2 separate regions of the Homo sapiens genome follow, and region 1 is linked to region 2. Evidence: promoter capture Hi-C in human tissues and cell types (Jung and others, 2019). All regions are on one chromosome and are shown on one strand. The core of a region is centred on a gene start or on the middle of the fragment in contact, and the rest is flanking DNA. Distances in the headings are between cores, read along the strand shown. Region 1 overlaps GOLGA8B (golgin A8 family member B). Region 2 holds the start of EMC7 (ER membrane protein complex subunit 7).

Region 1 (2,896 bases), core at 394-2,893, 480 kb before region 2:
TGTGTTGAGTTCCATCCCTCTTTGTTTGTCATTTTAAATAATTTCCCTACAAATCCAGAAGGCAGGTCTTGTCTTAACTTCGCGACGAGGAGGCTGGGGACAGGTAGCTGAGCTATGGGTTGCCTAAGAGCACTCTGCTGTGACGGGGCAGTGCTGGCCTTTGAGCCTGAGCTGGAGAGAGTGTGAGGCCCATGTTTTCTCTCTGTCTCCTGCTGGGGCCCATTTTGTATCAGATTTGTTTTTAACGGGGTGGGCATGACTAGGACTTATGACCATTGGTGGGCAAGTACAGGGGCTAATTTTCAACACGTGCTGAGAGACTGATGGCTGGCATCGGAGAGTTATGGAAATGCCACAGATGACGTGAGCTCTTCACAGCGATGGGGAAAGGGCGTGGGAGCTTGCCCTCCAGGAAGGTGGCTAACATGGTTGGTGGGACACTAAGGTGTTTTCCATTTTGCACTTGAAGCCAACATGGATTCTTAGCACTTCTTGTCCCTAGAATCAACTGTGCAGAGAGACGCTTGGTTGTGAAACTCTCAGGCAAAGACAGTTCTGAGGAAACTTACTAGTAAATAGTGAGTCAGAGAACACTACTGACATTTAGGATTTTCAGTTGAGATACATATGTACTGTCATGCATCACATGACATTGTTTTTGTGAGTGATAGCGTATATGACAGAGGTCCCATAAGAATATCATGGGGCTCAAAAATTCCTATTGCCTAGTGACATTGTCGTAAAGTTGTAGTGCAGTTACTTTATTTTTTAAAAAAATGTAGCCTAACTGTACAATGTTTATAAAGTCTGCACTAGTGTACAGACTGACTCACCGGAGCAACTTCCATTCATGGAAGGTCCATTCATAGAAAGTGCCCTAGACAGGGGCACCATGTTTTATCTTTTATAGCATATTTTAACTTTGTGCCTTTTCTATGTTTAGATACACACCTTCAGCACAGTAACATGCTGCCTAGGTTTGCAGCCTAGGAGCAGTAGGCTGTACCCTATAACCTAGTGTGTTGTAGTAGGTTTGTATAATGTATGCTCTATGATGTTCTCATAATGATGAAATTGCCTAATGATAAATTTCTCAGAATACATCCCTGTCATTAAGTGACGCATCTGTGTGTGTGTGTGTGTGTGTGTGTGTGTGTGTGTGTGTGTGTGTGTGTGTGTATGATATATAATTTTTTTCATTTGGTTGGTTTGGCATTCCTGGAATTGATTCTCCAGCAAGGCAGCTCTAAATATGGATTCCTCTGAACTGTTGTATGTGTTCTTAATTTAATAAACAAGTATCGTTTATGGTTTCCCGCAGTTGGTTTGATTATCAGCTGTCTTGGAAAAATCTATTGTTTCAAAAATAGTAAAGCCACTAGTTGAGTAACCGCATGCATTTAGGGATGATGGATTTCTCAGGTCTCTCTGGAAGCAAGTGTGTGCATTGTGCAATTAAAACACAGTTTCTGTTTCTCAGTCTTTTGGTGTAATAAGTGAGCCATGTGCTCTAGCATCTGTCTGAATTATCCGGAGCTGGTGGCAGCTGTCACGGGTGTGGTGCAGTGGGGCCAGGCATGTGTTAGGAACTGGAAGCTCTGGGAAGCCAGGCTCTGCCTGCACGTGTGAGCCAGCTGTAGAGCGTCACTGCTCAGAGTTTGTCTTGACTCATCCCAAGAAGGGCACGTGGAGGTCTGTGTCCCATTCCTCACCAGCCACTGAGTTATTATGGATGGAGGAGATGAGATGTGTGCAACTGTTCTGCTACAGGAAAGCAGTCAGTCAGTGCAGTCACCAGGGTTAGGATGTGTGAGTGTTTTACCAACCTGCCTGCTGGGTTTCAGACACTTGGCACTACCTCCAGCCTCTAACTGATTCTGGCTGGTACGCGTGAAAGCTGTCAGCTGAGTGATGAATGGACCGATTTTGGCCACAGGTCCCTGCACTTCCCACCTGGCCTGACTGCTAGATTCTGAGCCCCTGAGGCAGGACTGAATGGGTCACATTGATGGTTGATTCTCTCGGGAATGGCATTGGGTGAAATCGAGGTTTTCCTGACCCACAGCTCCTACTAGAAGTGCCTTTCTTTTGTGCATGTATTGTGAAGATTCTGCCTGTGAACTTTCTCTACCCTTTGAGTCCTAAGGTTCAGGTACCTGGAGAGGAGCATGTCATCGTTTTGCAGGTGGGATGTGTGGTTGTTGGGGAAGACGTCTTTGTGCTGTGTTGGGTTGGAAGCTTTGAGAGCAGAAGCCCCTCCAGACCAAGAACTCCTGATTGTGTCTTTCCCTTGGGCTTTCGCAGTTTTCAGCTTCTAAATTAATTGCATTTTATTAAGTAATGGTTTTCTTCTTGATCACAGGCGTGCCTGTGCTTAATCAGCACTGAGGACTGGTGCTACTTCAGTTGATTTGATACACCTAGAGGCAGCCTCATCTCCAACTTGTCTTGACTTCATTTGGGGAGCTGCCGTGGGGGACCCCTGGACTGGCAGCATTCCCACCCCTCACTTTGGCAACCCTGGCCTAACTCCTTGTATGTGTTGCTCCTTTTATCCATCACATAGGGTGGCTTAATCTAATAGTGGAAACAAAGGGGTGCGGGACGCTAACCTGGTAGGTCTCACCTTGCCCGTCCCGTCATTCACCTCTCAGTCCTTTGACACTCAGGGACTCTGCAGTGGTACAACCGGGAGCAGGTACCCTTCACTTTTCTTACCCCCGAGTCCCTTTGCCTGGAGCACTGTCCATCTATCCACCCATGCACTCAGTAGGTATTTTCCAAGCAGCTACTATATTCCAGCTTTCTTGTTCCCAGTTTAGAGCTGGGTGGGATCAGGAGGGAGGGCATGGAAGGGGTTGCTGGAGAATGTGCAATGGCATCAGAGCCCCATTCT
Region 2 (2,906 bases), core at 178-2,677:
GTGATTCATCAACTGCAATGTTTCTGTTTGGAGTATATACAGTGGAAAATTTATTTACAAGAAAGTCGAACACAGGTTTGATCTTCTGCAATGAAATCTGGGCCTTTGATTGACCAGCAGATATAGAAGAATTGTTGACAAAATGCAGGCACCGAAACAAAAGTAAAAATCTTTCACCAGTCATAATTTGCCTGAGATAAGGTGTATCCAAAAGAGGCCTTGTTGACCAAAACATCTCCAGCTCAGGTTTCTGCACAATACCTTGCAGTAACATTACTGCAAAAAAGACTTTGAGCTCGTCATTGTCAGTGTCTTTCCATTTATCCATTCGCGAAAATCCTTTCGGACCCGGTGGCTTTGAAGCCAACAAGGCAGCTTGGGCATTTGTTTCTCTAGTAATTTTTGAAACTAATTCCTCAGTAAAGAACAGTTCAAAATACTGCAATGGGTCAGTGATATCACTGACATCGACTTTTCTGCCAGGTGTGCCGGTAAAGTCATACCTTTGACGTGGAATCATAGCACGAGCTGACCATTTCATGGAGCGCCCTGAGTCACTTGATGTAGAGCTCTTTCCATCAGATTCTAAATGGGACAGAGGCCTGATCTTATCGGCTTCTAAAGCACTATCCGAAAAATTATCAGAATCATCTATTTCCGAAAAATCAGATTCATCAAATGAATCTTCAGCCAACAACTGTTCGAGACCGGTATTACTATCACGCATAGGAATGCTACGTTTTCTAGGATTTGACATTTCAGCGATCGAGAATTACTATATTTTGTAGATGGAAATCCCACTACTAAAAACAGAATGCTATAAACAGAATGATGTCTTTTGTTTCAAAAGTCAATATACCAGAACCATGCGAAAATAACAGAAGCGAGATATTTCGTGGCAAACTTTGGGAGTAAGGTTGGCACTGTAATCCACGAGTTATCTCGGCGTAAACGCTGCAGTCGCAGGCACAGCAGCGCGTAATCTCGGGGCTAAGGAGAAATGAGTTAAACGCACACAGACAGAAGAAGCCTTTCATCTCATACGTCTTGGGGAGTCTCTAGAAGTTTTTTGAAAGGTCTCTTCTGGATGGTGTTTCTCCCGAAGCCAGTCTCGTCATCTTTTACTCCCGTGAGGTCCTTGGCCTCCGTGGCTGCCGCAGCAACACACACTTGACTTTCACTTCATGGGCAGTCCCCTTCATAGGCACTTGACACAGGCTCTGTGCGCCGTCTTCCAATCCAGAGTGCCGGGAGTTAAGGGCAGTACTTCCGCCTTACTTCCGCCTCGCTAGTCGATCGGCCATGATCTCTTCCCTCTGGTTGGATCCCACAGCTTATGACAGAAACGGGCGCGCAGTGATGACAACATCAAGCCGCCAGCGGCGGCGGTGGCGGCCGGGAGACTGGGAGGGCTTCCGGGGCTGCCGGTCTGAGTGCAGAGCTGCTGTCATGGCGGCCGCTCTGTGGGGCTTCTTTCCCGTCCTGCTGCTGCTGCTGCTATCGGGGGATGTCCAGAGCTCGGAGGTGCCCGGGGCTGCTGCTGAGGGATCGGGAGGGAGTGGGGTCGGCATAGGAGATCGCTTCAAGATTGAGGGGCGTGCAGTTGTTCCAGGGGTGAAGCCTCAGGACTGGATCTCGGCGGCCCGAGTGCTGGTAGACGGAGAAGAGCACGTCGGTTTCCTTAAGTGAGCATCCTGAGGGCAGCGGGAAAAAGGCTGGGATGGAGGCCGGACAGGGACCCCACCAGGAGAGTTAAGTGTCAGGACGGGACAACGTCGCTGTCTCAGACTGAAGGGGAGGGTGCCGCTAACGGTCTATGCCGGGAGACCTTGGGAGGCAGTCGGATGCTTTCCCTTTCCTGGTCCTGTACCTCTGGAATGAGCATGGCAGGCGCTCACCCCCTGCCATGGTCAGAGCATGGAGTCAGTTATTTCCAACCTTATTTTGGCCCCATGTGGGGACGATCATTCCTGGGCCCTGGGGACAGGTGGACCCTTATTAGTCTCTTGTTGGATTCTTTTATATCTCATCTGGTTTCCCTAGAACCTAGTCGTTTTTTGCATTCACTTCAGTCTTTTGGTAGCTTGTTATTATGTAGAAAGATGCGACACAAGTGGGAATTCTCAAAACCCAAAGGGCTTCTAGTGACGACATAGACTGGGAGGCTAATGTTACTGCTTCTAAAATTAATAGGCTCTGAAATCCCTAATCAAAGCACTTTTTTTTTCTTTTTTTTTTTGCTTGGGGGTGGGATCGTTGTTCTTTTTTACAGTTGAATTCATCGAGAGATTTGCTATATCACACTTGTCATTTATGTGAGACTAGGGTTCCTCTACATTGCTTTCTTGCTTCTGTCCTTTCATGCTATTAGTGGAAGTGGGTTTTCTGTCTATATTAAAAGACAGGATGAATTTGTTAGCACTAGTTTTGCAGCAGCCTGCTTTTGAAATGTCTAGGCACGCGTATGTTGTTTTAAATCTTTCCACCCTTACTTGGAGGTGAAACTGTAAACTGAAAGCAAATAATTAGGAAGTATTTCCTTTGGTGGGTTCGTACACCAGCAAATGGTATCTGAAAATCAGACAACTTAAATGTAGACATTTAAATCCAAATCTGATTTACATATTTGTTCAGATCATCTAAGTGCCCTTGAGTGGTTATTCAACCTCAGATTAATAAATAGTGACAAATTTACAACCAGTATTTTACTGCTGTCTGTCATTAAGAATCTGGCATTAGGGCATTCGTTAGAGTTTACCCTAATTAATGATGTTTTAATGATAAAGTTCTCATTAAGCTTTAGGAATAAGCCTTAATTGACCATTTGGCCACTCTTCTGTATACAGTTCTTTTAAAAAGCATTTAATTTCTGTTTAAAAATAGTATATTAGAAACAAAGTAGGAAA

Evidence for each region. Contacts are between HindIII fragments. The study calls those that stand out against the background at their distance.
Region 1: a fragment that was not itself captured here is called in contact with the fragment with the promoter of EMC7 in region 2 in 1 of the 25 tissues and cell types used here (lymphoblastoid cells).

What each region holds. Positions count from the first base shown.
Region 1 is chr15:34,575,791-34,578,686 of GRCh38, reverse strand. All of the region lies in intron 1 of GOLGA8B (golgin A8 family member B), which reads left to right. Among named protein-coding and RNA genes, the nearest start is that of GOLGA8B, 6.4 kb to the left of the region's middle. The HindIII fragment of the contact is 3,792 bases long and covers 1-2,896 here.
Region 2 is chr15:34,100,383-34,103,288 of GRCh38, reverse strand. EMC7 (ER membrane protein complex subunit 7) reads left to right here and starts at 1,427. Exons shown (of 5, transcript NM_020154.3): 1 at 1,427-1,685. The coding sequence starts at 1,450. PGBD4 (piggyBac transposable element derived 4) reads right to left here and starts at 1,206. Exons shown (of 1, transcript NM_152595.5): 1 at 1-1,206. The coding sequence starts at 757. RefSeq lists enhancers at 997-1,086, 1,117-1,816, 1,426-2,283. The HindIII fragment of the contact is 11,801 bases long and covers 1-2,906 here.